Regions from separate parts of the Homo sapiens genome. Here region 1 is linked to region 2. Evidence: promoter capture Hi-C in human tissues and cell types (Jung and others, 2019). All regions are on one chromosome and are shown on one strand. The core of a region is centred on a gene start or on the middle of the fragment in contact, and the rest is flanking DNA. Distances in the headings are between cores, read along the strand shown. Region 1 overlaps LOC102724495 (a long non-coding RNA gene). Region 2 holds the start of ASZ1 (ankyrin repeat, SAM and basic leucine zipper domain containing 1).

Region 1 (4,993 bases), core at 1,837-4,336, 880 kb before region 2:
TGGAGAGCTCAGAAGACAGGAAGATGTGGGAAAGTTTGGAACTTCCTAGAGACTTGTTGAATGGCTTTGACCAAAATGCTGATAGTGATATGGACAATAAAGTTCAGGCTGAAGCGATCTCAATGGAGATAAAGAACTTGTTGGGAACTGGAATAAAGGTGATTCTTGCTATGCTTTAGCAAAGGTAACCTCTTCTCCCCATTACCCAGGAATTAGCAAAGCGTCATTTTGCCCCTGCCCTAGAGATCTGTGGAGCTTTGAACTGGAGGGAGATGATTTAGGGTATATGGCAGAAGAAATTTCTAAGCAACAAAGCATTCAAGATGTGACTTAGGTGCTCTTAAAAGCATTCAGTTTTATGTATTAACAAAAATATGATTTTGAATTGGAACTTATGTTTAAGGGGGAAGCAGAACATAAAAGTTTAGAAAATTTGCAGCCAGACAATGCAATAGAAAAGAAAAACCAATTTTCTGAGGAGAAATTCAAGCTAGCTGCAGAAATTTGCATAAGTAATGAGGAGTCAAATGTTAATTTCCAAGACAATGGGGAAAATGGCTCCAAGGCATGTCAGAAAACTTCATAGCAGGTCCTCCCATCACAGGACCAGAGGTTCAGGAGGAAAAAATAGTTTCATGGGCTGTGGCCAGGGCCTTGCTGCTTTGTGCAGTTTTGAGACTTGGCGTCATGCATCCCAGCTGTGGCTAAAAGGGGCCAAGATACAGGTCAGGTTTCAGAAGGTGCAAACCCTAACCCTTGACATTTCCACATGGTGTTGAGCCTGCAGGTACACAGAAGTCAAGAAATAAGATTTGGGAACTTCACCTAGATTTCGGAGGATGTAAGGAAATGCCTGAATATTGAGGCAGAAGTTTTCTGCAGGGGTGGAGCCCTCATGGAGAACCTCTGCTAGGGCAGTACAGAAGGAAATGTGAGATCAAAGCCCCCACACAGAATCCACACTGGTGCACTGCCTAGTGGAGCTGTGAGAAGATGGCCACCATCCTCTAGACCCCAGAATGGTAGATCCACCAACAGCTTGCACTGTGTGCCTGGAAAAGATGCAGATACTCAACGCCAGCTCATGAAAGCAGCCAGGAAAGGGGTTGTATCCTGAAAAGCCATAGAGGTGGAACTGCCCAAGGCCATGGGAGCCCACATTTTGCATCAGCATGACCTGGATGTGAGACATGGAGTCAAAGGAGATCATTTCAGAGCTTTAAGATTTGACTGTCCTGCTGGATTTCAGACTTGCATGGGTCCTGTAGCCCCTTTGTTTTGGCCAATTTCACCCATTTGGAATGCATGTATTTACCAAACGCCTGTACCACCATTGTATCTAGGAAGTAACTAACTTACTTTCGATTTTACAGGATCATAGGCAGAAGGGACTTGCCTTGTCTCACATAAGACTTTGGACTTGGACTTTTGGGTTAATGCTGGAATGAGTTAAGACTTTGGGGGACTGTTGGGAGGCATGGCTGATTTTAAAATATGAAAGGGACATGAGATTTTGAAGGGGCCAGAGCAGAATGATATGGTTAGGCTTTGTGTCCCTACCCAAATCTCATCTTGAATTGGAATCCCCATAATTCCCATGTGTCAAGGGAGAGACGAAGTGGAGGTAATTGAATCATATGGGTGGTGTCCCCCGTGCTTTTCTCATGATAGTGAGTGAGTTCTCACAAAATCTGATGGTTTTATAAGGGGCTCTTCCCCCTTCACTTGGCACTTCTCCTTTCTGCCACCTTATGAAGAAGGTGCCTTGCTTCCCCTTCACCTTCCATCGTGATTGTAAGTTTCCTGAGGCCTCCCAGCCATGCTGAACTGTAAGTCAATTAAACCTCTTTCCTTTATAAATTATCCAGTCTTGGGTATGTCTTCATTAGCAGTGTGGGAATGGACTAATACAGAAGGTAACCTCTTCTCCCCATTACCCAGGAATTAGCAAACATATTAACGAGAGCACCAGTGGGCTCCTCCAGGTAGGTAGTATGGATGTCACTATACTCTTTTTGGATTTTAAAATAAAGTCAGCCCAAGAAAACTAGAGGACAGGGAGGTAGCAGGGTAATCCAGCCTGATACCATTCAAACATAGTTTACAGTTTATTTCTCCAGCAGCCATTACATATTGGTATGAACAAATTAGATTCATGAGCCATTTAATTGAAAAAAATATCACTTTAGATAATATACTTTCGCTGCATTCCCTTCATCACATTAATTGTCCTCCAAAAAATGGGTGTTATTCCGTAGATGATGGTTATACTAATGAATTCCAAGTATAATTATGATAAAATCATTTGTTCTAATTTAATACATTTAGAATATGTGGTAATTAAAAGAAGAAATGAGCTAAGTTTATCATATCAATATTAAAGAGTCACCAAGAAATTGGTAATAAAAATATAGATATAGCAAATTTTATTTCTTTTGTTTGTTTGTTTTGAGACTGGGTCTCCCTCTGTCACCGATGCTGGAGTGCAGTGGCAAAATCATAGCTCACTGCAGCCTCAACCTCTCAGGCTTAATCAATCCTCTCATCTTTGCCTCCTGAGTACCTGGAACTATAGGCACACACCACCATGTCCAGCTAACTGTTGTATTTTTTGTAGAGACAAGGTTTCACCATGTTGCCCAGGTTAGTCTCAAACTCCTGGGCTCAAGTGACCCACCCACCTTGGTCTCCCAAAGTGCTGGAATTACAGGCCAAATTTTGTTTCTTAAAAAACAATTTAAAGCCTTGCAGATGTATTGCAAACAACTCATTAGTGTCTGTGCCAGGTGTAGCTAATTGTCTGGGCTGGTGGTTTACTGTATTAATTATACTGGGTTGAATAGTGTTCCCCAAAATTCAGATCCATTCAGAACCTCAGAATGTGACCTTATTTGTAAATAGGGTCTTCACAGATGTAATTAGTTAAGATGAGGTCATACTGGACTAGGGTGGGCCCTAAGCCAATGAGTCATGTCCTTATACAGAAGAGAGAAATTTGAACACAGGGAGATACATGGAGAGAATGTCATGTGAAAACAGAAGCAGAGATTAGAGTGATACATCTAGACGACAGAACACCGAAGATTGCTGGCAAATACCAGCAGCTGAGAGTCATGAAACAGATTCTCTCTCAAGGTCTTCAGAAGGAACCAACCTGCCAGCTCTTGATTTCAGACTTCTAGTCTCTAGAACCATGAGAGAATACATTTCTGTTGTTTTAAGCCACACAGTTTGTGGTACTTCGTTACAGAAGTCCTAGGAAGCTAACCAATCATGAATTATTTCCACTTGATATAAAGGACATTTAATAACAACATATTTTATTAAGCTTATTTGTATAACTATAAATTTAGAATGAACTAACTTTCTTTGAATAAATTTTGCAATTCAGTGTTTTCATTCATTCAGATCAATGTTCTATCAATTATCCACGTTAGTAAGTAAGGTTCTATTAATATTTTCAGTTTTGAGATATCTTTTTTTTCTAAAGAAATGGCACCCTGTTGTTTCAACTCTTGCCTACTGCCTTTCAGATGAATTTTCAGATAATGGAGATCTAGAAATCAAAGCAAGAGACTGTCACTTACTTATCTTTCTAGGACTATTTTATTTCTGGTTTAATTATTATGGAAGTCACCCTTTAAATCCCTGATTCAGTAATCAAATGAGTTTCTCAGAATAACAGATTTCATACATGGTATTCAGGTCACCTACTCATTACATCTAATTTGATGGCATTGGAGTGGAGGAGTCATTCCCTAACAGTGTTCAGTCACTTGCTTTCCCTGTGAAGTTGACTGAATTTTAAAACTGTTGGTCAGGAGCAATTTTTTAGTCAATTCTTTAAGAAGGCAAAGAAAAAAAAAAGGTTCATTGACTTTTTTTGCTGTTGTTAGTCTTTTTGCCAGAGGGTATCAGTGTAAAGTGGCAATCACACAATTCTTAAAGGCTAAAATAAAAATTGTTTTTAATATTAGCATTGTCTAGCCAGTACTTTCCACCTTGCTTACAATGCAGCACACATAGAAAAGAATTGCATTCATACAGCAAAACAGGGTAACTGGAAAAGGATGTAACTGACCCGTTCACAGCACAGTGTTGTACAGTGAATCAACAGATAGGCAGGAAGCTCTGACCAGGCTTTCTATTAAAGTATTGGGAAACACATTGCTTTCTGTGTATGCTTTTTACTGTGGGCTTATTTAAATCTCTCAAATAAGATAACTAAAAGACAATTCCCCTATTCCTTAAATTCAGCAGGATTTGCTTATTTAATAGCATTATCTGCAAACTTATGACATACATCAAATATAAATATCTTCATATAATTTATTTACCTTTTCTTCTCTTTTAACTCAGCGCATGTAAGGCCTTTTTTACCCTCCATTTGATGAAGGGTGAAGTGACAAATCCAATGCAGGACTACAAATCTTGCATAATAGTCATGTAGACTCTAAATCAATCTTGCATTAAAATCATAAATCTTTACAAAGGTGCAGCCATTATAGGAATGATCCAAAACAGTTGTAAAATGTTCATTCCAAGCATTTGTGCTAATAGCTATGTGATATAATTTATCCTGCTCTTCTTATAAGCAAAGTATCATCCTTATATTTCCTTTAGAAAATATTACAAATTAACTTTCCCTCAACCACACCAAGTTTGCATCCCCACAGAGGTCAGATAACTCACTAATTTACCTAATTTATTTATTTTTTCTGACTATATTGACTGGTTCTTATTTTGTCTTCATGACACCATGCTCAAGAGCTAGCAATGGGGGAGAAAAAAGAGGAGGATTTGAGGTATGAAGAGAGAAAGGAGAGACAGATTCGATTCAAGAATAAAATCAAAATTAAACTTGAAATTCCTAATATTCTAAAATATTTATGAGTTATATATTCCTATTCTTAAGAAAAATATATTCATAACAATCTAGTCTCCTAAAGATAAATTCTGTTTATATATATATATAAATTTAAATGAATACATT
Region 2 (4,645 bases), core at 393-2,892:
AGGACCCTGACAGTACTTCCTTAAACTTTGCTTCTTAGGGGACTCACTTGCCCCAGCCTCACTTGCCCCATCCTGGTCCTGAGTTGCTTTTTTCTTGCCTTAGGACCTTGGCACTATTCCTGTCCACTGCCAGGAAAGCTCTATTCTCCCACTCTTATATGGCTTGTTATTTACGACTCTGCACAGTTCTGACTATCCTATCTAAAATCTACCTCTTACATTGAGAAAGACCTTATTCTAAGCCTATTACTTCATTTAGTCCTCATAACAATTCTATTTGGTGGGTACTATCATCACCTCCATTCTACAGATAAGTTAGCTGGTACCCAGATAGATGCTAAGTAAATTGCCTAAGGGCACACAGCTACAGCTAGTGATTCCCCCAGGAAACACAAAAGTGGTTTGATTCCAGAAACAGAGCACACTTGTTTCTTTTGAAGCACTTACAATCTGCAATAGTGTTTTTGTTTCCTTGCATATTGTCTATCTCTACTTATTAAAGTGAGCTCCATAAGGCTCCATGGTTTATCTTTGACGTTGTCTCCCCAAACCTAGTAGCACTTGGCTGTGCTAAGTAATCCCTAGCATTTATTGAATGAATGCATTTAGAAAGACAGATGTGGCACGCAAATAGCTAAACTACTTAAAAATACTTACCTCTGAGCCTCTAAAGTAAATAATTTCAAAATCTTTTATCAGAGAATCTGCAAGAAAAAAACCGCAAAAGCTTTCAAATAATAGTGCATGGCTATTATCTTGAGATACATATAATATGCCCTGTTTCTTGGTGGATCTACTTTTCTGTGGTGGCAAAGAAAATCACTGTGTTACCAACATCTAGAAGTTCTACCATCTAGAACCATGTAGAAAGGTGAGTTCGAGCTTGGGCCACTTCCACCTGGAGTTGTTTGTATTATTTGCTCTCTGGACGTTTAAGTCATTTCTTTCTTTCTGGCTCTTTGGATCCACTGTACCCGGAAACCCCCTCCTTTCATATTTTCCTCTAGGACATCTACACTTCATAGCGGGGAAGTGTTTTGATGGTCTGAAGCTTCTAAATCTAAGGTGAGATCTAAGATCACATGAAATGTAAAGGAAGAATTCTTTGGGGCAGTATTTTCTCCTGGCTCCTTCGTCGGCTCCTACTTGCGTAAGGGCTTCTTGAATGTCTGAGTGGTGCTCCTGAGAGAGGTGTTACTACGAAGAGTCCGTCTCCCAGGGGATACAGATTTAACAGACGTTTGGCAGGGGGCAGATGAAAAGGATGGCGGGGAAAGTCTAGTCTTACTTGCCGTTAAATCCTAGTGTGCTCCTGCCACAAGTAAGGCATTCCTTGCAGAGCAAGAATTTCATCATTTCATCAAGCAAATACTTTAAAGAGGTCGAAAGGTAAGTCCCTGAGAGGAACTGGAAGTGCCAGCAGAAGCCTGGCGCACGAACTTCGTCACCAGTGTCAGACACGCCAGGTTTTCACCTCAAGAAGCCTCAAGGTTAGGGAGGGACGGGGCAGGGAGGAGAGCAGCGCGCCGCTGTGCGCCTGCGCTGGAGGGCTCCAGACTGGAGCGCTTCCACGGCGCTCCTTCCCGCGCATCTCTACGTACGCCCCACCCCGGTGCGCATGCGCCCGGAGAGCTGAAGGGCGCGCGGTGCCGACAGGGAGCTTCCTTGGCTGGCATGGCGGCGAGCGCGCTGCGAGGCCTGCCAGTGGCTGGCGGAGGCGAGAGTAGCGAGAGCGAGGATGATGGCTGGGAGATTGGGTATCTCGACCGGACGTCTCAGGTAGCGGAGGAGGCCTTGTCTTGACCACACCTGGTTTCAGCCTCCCCTGGCCCTCGAAGGCGAGGCCCAGCCTCGTGAAACCTCCTACTCCCTCACGTGTATTTCCCTTTTACCCAGTGGAAATACGGGAGTTTGTACTTAAGCAAACCCGCACAAATTTCCTCGTGTTCCCTCCCCAACTGTGGTTACCACCAAATACGCTTCTTTAGGTCATCGTAACTCCTCAGTTGGGTTTGGATCCATCATTACCTATTCCCTTGAAAGATAATTTTCGACACGAATTCTTTTCAAACTTTGTATCTTAGTCAAAATAAAGCCAAGAAAAAAAACCTGTGTACTTAACCAAACATTATTGTTTCCTGATGAGGTGGAAACAAAAATATATATAACAAGAATTTTTTAAAATGTTTACTTTTCTAGAAATTGAAAAGGCTATTACCCATTGAAGAAAAGAAAGAAAAATTTAAGAAAGCAATGACCATCGGAGATGTTTCATTGGTCCAGGAGCTCCTAGATTCTGGTGAGAGATAAGGGACAGTTTCATCTGAACACAGCTGTCTTAAGTTCGCAAGGATTCTTTATTTTTAAAAGGTTTATGTTGCTTTTCTAATGGAAACGCAACAAATGTTAATGTATCATCCTGCATAATCTTCGTTGACTGAGTCCAGTCTGCCTTATTTTCTTCCTCTCTGCTTGCATTTGGAATGCCACCCTGTTTATCTTCCATCAGTTCTTCCCCCTCCTTCAAGCAAGAGGCCTACTCTAATCCTATCCCACTCTGATCATTCTTAATTCTCTCTTCATTTACTCTGCTGTAATGTTGTTTCTTTTTTCTTTTCTTTTTCTTTTTTTTTTTTTTTTTTTTTTGAGATGTTATCTTGCTCTGTGGCCCAGGCTGGAGTGCAGTGGCGCGATCTTGGCTCACTGCAATCTCCACCTTCGGGTTCAAGCGATTCTCCTGCCTCACCCTCCTGAGTAGCTGGGACTACAAGCGCGTGACACCACGCCCGGCTAATTTTTTTTTTTTTTTGTATTTTTAATAGAGAGAGGGTTTCACCGTGTTAGCCAGGATAGTCTCGATCCTCTGACCTTGTGATCCGCCTGTCTCGGCCTCCCAAAGTGCTGGGATTACAGGCATGAGCCACCGTGCCCTGCCTGTTGTATGTTTCTTAAGAAATGGTTCTACATTTTAGTTCTTTCTCGTTACAGTTTTTTGTTTTGTACTGGTGGAATGAGGCCTGAGCTAGGAATCAGAATAAATATATGGATAATTTCTTCCAGTTTATTGCCCACTCTGGTTTCTTGGAAGAGGCATTAAAACTTTGAGAGCATCAGATTTCATTTTTGGGGGGTTGAAGGAAGGGGATGGAGTGTCTCTCTCTAGCCCTGCTGGAGTGCAGTGGCACCATCTTCGCTCACTGCAACCTCCATCTGGGGGCCGGGATTCAAGTGATTCTCCCACCTCAGCCTCCGGAGTAGCCGGGACTAAAAGCACCGGTCACCAAGCCCAGCTAATTTTGGTAATTTTAGTAGACACGGGGGTTTCACCATGTCGGCCAGGCTGGTCTTGAACTACTGACCTCAAGTAATCACCCACCTCGGCCTCCCAAAGTGCTGAGATTACAAGCAAGAGCCACCGCCCCCAGCCAGAGAGCATCAGTTTCTTTATGTAAAGCATCATAATTCTGTCCTGGGCTTCATGAATTTTTTGTGTATTAAATAAAAAAAAAACTTTAAATTACCTTCACATAGAAATGTAAATTATTGATTATAATGATTGAAATTACTGGCCGGGCGCGGTGGCTCACGCCTGTAATCCCAGCACTTTGGGAGTCCAAGGCGGGCGGATCACGAGGTCAGGAGATCGAGACCATCCTGGCTAACACAGTGAAACCCCGTCTCTACTAAAAAACACAAAAAAAATTAGCTGGGCGTGGTGGCGGGCGCCTGTAGTCCCAGCTACGCGGGAGGCTGAGGCAGGAGAATGGCGTGAACCCGGGAGGCGGAGCTTGCAGTGAGCCGAGATCGCGCCACTGCACTCCAGCCTGGGCGACAAAGCGAGACTCCGTCTCAAAAAAAAAAAAAAAAAAAAAAAAGAAATTACTCAAAGGAATAACAAGCATTTACTTCAGTTTGATGCAAAAATAATTGTGGTTTTTGCCATTGTAGATACAAAACATTCACACACAAGGTAGTTAGATGTGATTATATATAGCATAATGTTTTTCTTCTATGCTAGAATCAATGCATAGTTTACTGAAAAGTAAATAATTTTGAAAACAAGACAGATCTGGGTTTGATTACTAACCATGCCACTTGATGGCTTTGTAACCTTGACTAAGTTACCAAATCTTCCTAAGCTTCAATTTCTGCCCGTTTTAAAATGAGGATTATTATATCAAAGGGTTGTTGGCAAGGGGGAGAATTAAAATACGCTTTTAAAGGACTTAGAACACATAGGAATTATGTAAACATTACCTGTTATTCTTATAAGAAATGAGAAGGATCTGTATGACTTTTTGGACAATGGAACTTGAGTTTGGAATTGAAAAACGAAATTGAATAAACTCTGAATAAGTAGAAAGAGGCCCGAATACCTAATATTAATATATGTATAGTGTACATAGCATGGGGTGGAATAGGCAGAGATTTGTTTTAGAAAAGAAAATTTGCCTTAGGAGTAGTGGGACTAGGTACAGTGAATGTGATAGAGGCTTTTGAAGGATTAAGACTTGATATGATTGATGGGCAGATGTGAGCTTTTCAGTCTCTTGAACAGAGCCTACTGCTAAGTATTTAGTCAACCATTTGAAATTTGTTTTTAGTTACAAAAATTTTTAAAGTTCATTTTTAAAAGGCAGTAATA

The links. Contacts are between HindIII fragments. The study calls those that stand out against the background at their distance.
Region 1: a fragment that was not itself captured here is called in contact with the fragment with the promoter of ASZ1 in region 2 in 1 of the 25 tissues and cell types used here (lymphoblastoid cells).

What each region holds. Positions count from the first base shown.
Region 1 is chr7:118,304,993-118,309,985 of GRCh38, reverse strand. The region is part of intron 1 of LOC102724495 (a long non-coding RNA gene); the gene reads right to left. Among named protein-coding and RNA genes, the nearest start is that of ANKRD7, 83 kb to the right of the region's middle. The HindIII fragment of the contact is 4,734 bases long and covers 720-4,993 here.
Region 2 is chr7:117,424,490-117,429,134 of GRCh38, reverse strand. It overlaps ASZ1 (ankyrin repeat, SAM and basic leucine zipper domain containing 1), which reads left to right and starts at 1,642. Exons shown (of 13, transcript NM_130768.3): 1 at 1,642-1,779; 2 at 2,200-2,299. The coding sequence starts at 1,675. The HindIII fragment of the contact is 3,572 bases long and covers 1-2,595 here.